Regions from separate parts of the Homo sapiens genome. Here all the other regions are linked to region 1. Evidence: promoter capture Hi-C in human tissues and cell types (Jung and others, 2019). All regions are on one chromosome and are shown on one strand. The core of a region is centred on a gene start or on the middle of the fragment in contact, and the rest is flanking DNA. Distances in the headings are between cores, read along the strand shown.

Region 1 (2,879 bases), core at 245-2,744:
TGATGCTGATTAAGAAAAAAAAATATACCAGCGGTGCACAGTTTTCAAGCTTACACCATTAACACCCTTTTCCCTAACTGCAGAGGGAAAAGAATCACATTCTTCCATCTAATTCCAACCCACTGTGACTTGCTCTTTTACTTCGTCTTTATGAAGAGGAGGATAAAAGTGAGAAATGCGCATTTCTGAGGGAAATTAAAAGCTCCCTTTGCTACCCAGGCTGCCCCAAACAGAGGGGCCTCGGTTAGGATCACAGTGGCGCGATCGCAGGTCAAACATCCCCCACGGCCACAGCGAGGCCTGCTGGGCCCGGAAGAACACACTCCCAGCAATACAAGTTCGAGCACACCCGGAGCAGCACATCCAAGGAACGCGACGGCCGGGCGCAAGTGCTGCTCTGTTCCCAGGCCAGCCAGCCTCTGGCCTGCAGACCTGGGTGGCAGCCAGTGGCCGCTCCGGGTGGCACACTAGGAAAGTCCCGGAACCCCAGGCCCAGAGGGTCAACTGGTCAAATATAAGGCAGGGTCCAAAAAGTTCCGCTCGTAAATCCTCGTGGCGCCCAACGGGCCTGAGCGCTCATTACCACCAGAACCCATCAGGGACCGGCCCTGACTTTCATACCCCGGGCCTTCCACTGTGGGTGCCAGGAGCAGCGGGACCCGGGTGGGTCTCGAACGCAGGGGCCAGAACCCGAAGAAAGGCTTCCAGCAGTTGGAGAGGGACGCAAAAAACAACCTAGAAGGCTCCCGGGCCGCGGGTTCCCACCCACTCCGCCCTGCCCTGCGCAATCAGCTCGCTAACCCCACCGGCCCCGCGGGGCCAGCGGAGGAAGTCTCCGGAGTTGGCAAAAAGCTCTTAATGACTTAGTGTTTACAAAGCAACCAAGCCCGGGGAGGGGACTAGGTCCTCTGCGTACCCTTTAGACACAGCTACTCCTTCCTTCCCTCCCTTTCCCCGAACCCACGCTGGGGCCTGGAGGTGCCCAGCATGACAGCCTCTACGGGAAGTGGGGTCTTTGGGGAAATCTCTGCCTCTGCCCGGCTCCGCTGACTTCAGCTGCTCCCGCATGTCCCACCTGGGTGCCTCCTTGGCGCAGAGACCTCACATCAAAGCCACCAAGGGGAGGCTAAGGGATTCGTAGAGATGGGTGCCGGCAGCAGAACAGCCTTCGCACACCTGCCCGGATCCCACCGTCTGCCCAGCGTGCCCAGGACCCCAGCTCCTCAGAGATAAGAGCCCTCCTTGGCCAGGTTTCTCACCTTGGATGGTGCCACTGCAGGAGAGAGAGGCTGCTAGCAGGATGGCGGCCCCCAGCAGCCACGCCGCGCTGGGGCTCCGCATCCTCCTGGAAGCCCCGACGCCGGGCGCGCGGGGAATCCGCCGCCGCCGATTCGAAACTCAGAGCTCCACTGGACGCACCGAGAGAAAGTCAGCCTCTCACCTGCCCCGAATCGGAGCCTCTGCTGCGCGCCTCCCCAGGGCGGGTTAGGTTTCAGGGAAACCGAAGGAGCAGCGTACTCACCTGCGGGAGGCCACGCCCCGGGACCGGAACGCGCGCCCTGGTCCCGCCCCCGGCCCCCTTCCCTGCGCAGCTGCGCCCTCCGCTTCCCGGACTCGCGCCAGGTCCCTTAGACTGCGGGAGCCGCCTGCGGGCGGGGTTGAGCGCATGAGGTGTCTGCTTTGGAATGCAAATAGCAGGAGCGCTGGGACCACGGGTTAATCCCTGCCTAGGCTATACCGCGAACTACCTTTAATCTTTACTTACTCCTAGAGAAGCGGGTCGTCGGTCTCCCTTGCCTTTCCTGACTGTGGGAAAGCCACGATTCGTACTCACTGCAATTGTGGTTGGTAACTGATACAGACAGGGCTTCCCGGTGCGGTGGACCCTGCAGGAGGAGGGATGCGTTTTTTATTGTAGAGGCAGGTGGGCAACTGCGGACATCACGAAAGCGGTGGGGAGCACAAGAGGCGGGGCGGGAAAGAAGACATGGAATGGCTACTTTCAGCGCCAAGTGCCAAAGCTTTAGAGAATTATCTTGCTTAATCCCCATAACAACCAGCGCAATAAGTATGATTATTCTTCCCATTTTACAGACGAGGAAAGTGAGCTTAGAAAGACCAGATAAATTGGCCAGAGTTACACGACTTATAAACACAGTGTATAAATGTTTATCACATTTCAACTCCAGTATAAGACTATCACTGTCTTCTATTCATCGCTGCACTATAAATGCGTCCACCAGGGCTCCTCTGCATTGGGATCCCATAGGCTAAATAAATACAAAAGCAGATAGAAGGGGTGGGAGAAGAGAAGTGTGGGGTTGGGGATGAGTGCATGAGGGTTGGCATCATATTGGTAATGTCTTACTTTTTGTTTTTGAGACGGAGTCTCGCTCTGTCTCCCAGGCTGGAGTGCAGTGGCGTGATCTCGGCTCACTGCAAACTTTGTCTCCTGGGTTCAAGCAATTCTCTGGCCGCAGCCTCCCGAGTAGCTGGAGTTACAGGCGTGCACCACATCTGGCTAATTTTTGTATTTTTAGTAGAGGCGGGGTTTCACCATGTTGGTCTGGCTAGTCTCGAACTCCTGACCTCGTGATCAGCCCACCTCCGCCTCCCAAAGTGCTGCGATTACAGGCGTGAGCCACCGCACCCAGCATGTCTTACTTTTTATTTGCTTTTTAAAAGATTGAATAAAACAAAGTCTACTGTTACCCATTTAAACTATTGGTACCAGAAGAGCACAGAAGAGAGACATAGGTATTTTCAAATATTTAAAGGATTCGCTTGTAGAAGAGGATTTAGATGTGTTTTGAGTTGCTCCAGAGAGCAAAAATTGGTGGAAGCCACAGTGGGGTTTAATTTCAGCTCAATGTATAAAG
Region 2 (2,879 bases), core at 173-2,672, 240 kb after region 1:
ATAGATATTTTTATACTATTTATACTACATGAAAGAATAAAGACCAAGAACTTTGAGTAAACTAAATAGTCCCAGAAAACAAAGGAAGTGCCCCAAGATAAGGAAGAACCAAGGAGCATAGGTGGTGACAGAAACACCGGGTAGAAAGAGGGTCCAGCACTGGTGGTCACATCCACTAACTAAGTGGAGGCAGGACTAGAAACATGATCTGAGATGATAAATCAGCCCAAAAGCCTAAGGATCACTGGGTACAGTCAATCCCTTGTCTCCCAGGGGATGAAAACCTCTAGAAAGCCCAACTAATTAAAAAAAAAATATTTAAAAGGCATACATAAGCTTTTAATAATGTTAATGGATCAGGCCAATACATCATTATGACAGGACAATGGATTATACAATGCTGGTCAAGTGAGACTTAAGAAAGTAAATTATTTCAGGGTAATGGGGAAGGGGGGCAGGGGTGGGGACCAGATTGTAAATAAAGACCTACCTGAAAGCCGGGTACTTAAATGCGGTCTGATTTTTTTTTTTTTTTTTTAAACAAAGAAAGTTTAGCCTGATGCCTGTGGCCAGGGTCTGACTCGCCATGGGAGAAGAACCCAAAGTTGCGCCATGTTCTGACTCACAAGTGATCCATCCGAAACCCAGATCTGTAATCATGGCAGGTTTGAAAGGGTATTCTTTTGTTTCTGGTGCCACGAAGATTATGTCAATTCTGGGTAGGTATCAAAATAATATAATAGCCAAGGACAACTCAAAACTAGTTATAAATAATAAACAAAATGAGTGAAACTTGTAGTATGGGTCTTACAGAATAGGTTCCAGTGTAGTAAGTTTGTAATAACGTACCTGGGCATTTCACCTGCTCTTTAAGGTATCTGAAGTACTCAAAACATCATTTCTACTAAATTATTCCAACTCTTTCAAGGAACTCACTTTTATGACTGTTTAAACAAGTAACAGTTGTTTAATATCATTTATTATACATCTTTAATAAGGTGGGCACTAAACAACATGTCAAAAAAGTGTTCTTACCCTTACGTAAAAGGCCTCCAGATATTTTTTAAAAATTAGTATAGTAACTAGTTAGTAAGGCTCTCACTCTTAAACTGGTTCCTTTTCAAGGCAGAGGCTTTATAACATTCCAAAAGAAGCCACAAAAGTAAAACATGCCATACGCAGTATACACTTTAAGTTCAAAGATATCAAAATAGTTACAGTGGTTTTTACTTGGTGTTGAGATAGTGGGTATTTTAGCTTTTTCTTTAACATTCTTCCTGGATTTTCCAATTTTTTCCACAATGAGCATACATTACTTTTGAAAAAATGAGAAAAAGACAAACATTTCTTTAGAAAAAGAATGATGTGGCCGGGCGTGGTGGCTGATGCCTGTAATCCCAGCACACTGGGAAGCTGAGGCAGGCAGATCACGAGGTCAAGAGATCAAGACCATCCTGGCCAACATGGTGAAACCCCGTCTCTACTAAAAATACAAAAAATTAGCTGGGCATAGTAGTGCGTGCCTGTAGTCCCAGCTACTCAGGAGGCTGAGGCAGGAGAATCACCTGAACCCGGAAGGTGGAGGTTGCAGTGAGCTGAGATTGCACCACTGCACTCTAGCCTGGTGACAGAGTGAGACTCCATCTCAAAAAAAAAAAAGATGCCATCCACCGCTAAGGTGAGTCTGTCTACATTAGGTGAAGCTTGAGAATTTCCTCCCTTTGCTGCTGTGGTAATGTTCATGGAGTCTGGCTTGAGAACACCAAGCTAAACTGACACAGGGATTGGTGAGTGGTAGGACACGAGACTGGGATCAGAAATAAAATGATAAGGTGAGGGGCAGGCAGCAAAGGGGAACACAGATACAAACAGGAAGCAAGCATAAGCACCCAGAAGTTAGGTTGTTAAGCCCAAATCAAGATGACAGGGAATAGGAGACAAGTTTGGTCAGGGCTAAGAGCTAACTTTTTAGATCAAGTCAGGCCCACAGGCTGGGGCAGGAAGAAGGCAGCGCCTGGCAAGCTTAACTTCCTAGGGAAACTTCCTTGCTGGCTTCTGAGTTATAATCAGAATCTCTGACCTGCCTAATTACTCTACCAGGTAATAACAACTCTCAAATACAGCAGCAGTGCTGTATTTGCAGCCAGGATATAAAAGCTGAAGACATGTTAGTTCATTTCCATCATCATTTCTAACTATGCAGCAAGAGTATTTATCAAACCCACTGTATTTATTAGAGGATTGTTCCTCAGCTTTCAAATGTGTCTTGCACAACAAAGCAGAATATCAGCCTCCTTTGAGTGACTGACTGCATTTTAAATCATAGCAGGAACAAGTTTTGGTGGAAAAAGCTGCAAGATACACTTGGGACTTCTCGGCTCCATAGTGAGAGGCAGCTATACAATAATTTAGAACAAAGAAAAGCGAGGAGAATGCTATTTACTAAATAAATATTGCTTTTGAAGATAAAATATCCTACTTAAGATCAGATCTGGTGAATGACATGACCCAACAGGAATCCCCTCCAGGATGAGTAAAAGTAATGGAGATGTCTATGATGAATAACTGAAAAACACAGTCCTGGAAAATATCACATCAATATTTGTATACAATTGGTAATAATAAACAAAAAGTTGTTTTTTCTTTGTTTACCAAGCTATTCAAGCCATTGTTAAAACCATGGCAAATACACATGTAAGTCTAAGTGCAGCTCTAGATAGCTCCTTTAGGAGAACCATGATATCACCAGAAAGGAACTTAGCATACCATTTGTTTATAAGCTCCTTAACATGAATGTCCCAGTTGTCTATTTCAGAAAATCAATTGAAACTTATACGAGACAGCCCACGAGCATGCGACAGAACTAGAGATTAGCACTG
Region 3 (2,879 bases), core at 97-2,596, 190 kb after region 1:
CCATAGGTCCCTTTGGGGGAGGGGTGGAAGAAAGACTAACAGTATAAATTTTTGGTAGTGTAGCTGAGTTTTTCCTCAAGGGGCCTGGCCTTCCCTTCATTTGAGGGGTTCTGGGTTTGTAAACTGGCCCCATTCTGGGAACTGATTGAGGGTCCATGACTATTTTTATGATTCAAGGTAGACTTCTGTTTGCTTGACCCAAAACTCATCCAGTTGTACAGATTAAGTAAGAATTGAGTAGACTGCCAGTCTATTTCACTTCTAGTTGCACCATGATCAGCTAGCCAACTCCATAGGTCTCCTATTGGTTCTGTTTCTGTGGAAAACCCTGGTAACTATAAAGGCCATGGAAAGGAGAAAAAGGCATTTATTAAGTAGAAATGGTCTAGTTCTCTAAAAATCAAGAGAAAAAAAGAATTTTATTCAATTATACAATTTGAGAGCTTAAAAACTATTTTTTACCTTCTGGATTTTGTTCAGCAACATTGTTACATTTTGTTGGAGATAGAGTCAAATCACTGACAATAGGGCAACCAACTAATTTCGGTATAATTATGTGTCCAAGAACTAAAACTTGGTAAGAATCCAAATCTTTCAGAAATTAAAAATCACATGACTTCAGGCACATAACCAAATCCAAAAAGGCAAGTTTCAAGAGCAAAGGAGGTGAGGGCTTACATTGTTTTGCTCTGTCCTTGTCCACGTTGGCATCATCGACGGCTTGCTGTATCTCATCCAGCCAAAGCACTTTGGAAACACTCTCAGAGTCCTGGGGACAATGTCACAGAATAAAAAGAAAGAAGAGTGAATGATGAGGAAACAGAATTAATAACTGCTTTTGAGGAGCCATTTAATCATAATTCCCACAAATTCTTAATCAGCAACTATCCAGCTCTGCCATATACTGTACACACTCCTAATGAAGCAGACCCCAAACCCGACCACTTCCTCCTTCTTCCCCACCACTCTTTAGTCCAGCCCCCCATCATCTCCCAACTGGACAGCTGCATCAGCCCCCTAGCAGCTTCTGCTGCATCTAAGCTTGCCCTCACCACAGTGGCCCTCTACAGAGGGCCCAGAGGATCCCTTCAAAATAGATAGCTCAGTGCACCACTCCTCTACTTAAAGCTTCCCCAAAGGCTTCCCCCGGCAGTTAGAAGGAAACACAGGGTGCCTTCTCAGGGATGGCGGGGCTCCAACGGCATGGCCCTGCCTACTGCCTCTCTGGCTGCACCTCACACCCGTTTACTTCCCCCTTCCTGTTCTAGACCTTCACACGAGTCTCTTTCAGACCACAATACTCTACCCTCACTGTGTGGCTGTTGGCTTTTTCTTACCATTCAGGTCTCAACTCAAATGCTACCTACTCCAAAAAGTCTTCCCGGGCTACCCTAGTCAAACACTCTCTCCCTCAATCAATTATTGTGGTTCCCAAACTAAGTGTCAAGGTGTCCCAGGGTACCATGGGATATTTTTAATTTGAGAGAAACACAGGGATCGTCGATATTTATCAGACACAGAGACAAAAATTAAAAACAAACAACAACATGGTGATTGTCCTCAAGGACCTAACAATGTAGTGTAAGAGACAGATGTGTCAAGACATATAGCTGGGCATGGTGGCTTACACCTGTAATCCCAGCACTTTGAGAGGCTGAGGGTGGTGGACCACTTGAGGTCAGGAGTTCGAGACCAGCCTGGCCAACATGGTGAAACCTCATCTCTACTAAAAATACAAAAATTAGCCAGGAGTGGTGGTGCATGCCTGTAGTCCCAGCTACTTGGGAGGAAGGCGGGAGGATTGCTTGAACCTGGTGGGTGGAGGTTGCAGTAAGCCAAGGTCAGGCCACTGAACTCCAGCCTTGGGACAGAGTGAGACTCTGTCTCACAAAAAAAAAAAAAAAAAAAGAAAAGAAGAAAAAAAAGAAAAAGAATTATAATACAATGTGATCAGGGCAATATATACTGCAGACACATGATCCAGACATAGGTGAGAAAGGGTTAACCTATGGTAAAGGTGTCAAGTTGCAGGGGGAGCAAAGACTAAGTAGTTAAAGATAGCTTTAGAAAGGAAGCAACAGCAGCAATGAAAATGTATTGCATTATTCCTATTATAGGTAAATATTCCTATTTAACTTTGGGTTGATTCTGATGGTCCTGCTACAAAAGCAGCCCTGACAGATATTAAGTGGAACTTCCAGGTAGCAATTGTGTTTTATAAAATCTTTTCTGAGATGGCAAGTAAATAATTATCAGCAGAGATATTTTCAGGAAACATGTGACATTTAACAAATGGGAACATTTTACCTATGTGTAGGAATAAGTGTCGTGTTCTAAATCCTAAGTCAAGACTGTGATGAATGAAAGGTAATGGATCTGGCACCGACTCCGTCATTTAAAACTTAAGATGGATGGGGGCAGGAAGGAGAGGAAATAGTCACTGGTTCCTCTGGCAGGCTTCTAACACTATTTTCCTCAGAGGTTAACGTGAGATAATGCATGTGGAAAGGGCTCTGAAAATGAGATAAACTATCTGTTATTTCATCGTGCAACATCTGGGCTAAAGGAGACCTCTGGGGAAGTGTTGGTGCCTGCTTCCACAATCACCTCTAGCTATGCGGCAGACTACAAGGGAAGCATCAGCAAGATTTTCCATTTCTTTCAAGAATGGATGGGGGAGGCTCAAACAGGAAGCCGGGTGGAAAGGGGAAGACTAGAGGAGGAAAAAAAGAGACAGGGAAGCAGGAGCTAATTTTTCTCTGTTTACAAGATCTAAGAGAACCCAACACTCCCCAGCTATAACCTAAAAACTAAGCTCTATGAGTTCATTTATGTGTCTCAGTTCTTTTGAAGGGTATTTGCCTTCCTTCATAACTTAT

Evidence for each region. Contacts are between HindIII fragments. The study calls those that stand out against the background at their distance.
Region 2: a fragment that was not itself captured here is called in contact with the fragment with the promoter of F2RL1 in region 1 in 1 of the 25 tissues and cell types used here (mesenchymal stem cells).
Region 3: a contact is called between a fragment that was not itself captured here and the fragment with the promoter of F2RL1 in region 1, in 1 of the 25 tissues and cell types used here (IMR-90 fibroblasts).

The regions. Positions count from the first base shown.
Region 1 is chr5:76,817,645-76,820,523 of GRCh38, reverse strand. F2RL1 (F2R like trypsin receptor 1) reads right to left here and starts at 1,494. Exons shown (of 2, transcript NM_005242.6): 1 at 1,260-1,494. The coding sequence starts at 1,341. RefSeq lists enhancers at 543-1,160, 1,161-1,778 and a silencer at 1,466-1,760. The HindIII fragment of the contact is 2,769 bases long and covers 1-2,557 here.
Region 2 is chr5:76,577,100-76,579,978 of GRCh38, reverse strand. All of the region lies in intron 5 of IQGAP2 (IQ motif containing GTPase activating protein 2), which reads right to left. Among named protein-coding and RNA genes, the nearest start is that of F2RL2, 45 kb to the left of the region's middle. The HindIII fragment of the contact is 4,937 bases long and covers 1-2,879 here.
Region 3 is chr5:76,625,300-76,628,178 of GRCh38, reverse strand. It overlaps IQGAP2 (IQ motif containing GTPase activating protein 2), which reads right to left. Exons shown (of 36, transcript NM_006633.5): 14 at 679-769. Among named protein-coding and RNA genes, the nearest start is that of F2RL2, 3.3 kb to the right of the region's middle. The HindIII fragment of the contact is 4,209 bases long and covers 1-2,879 here.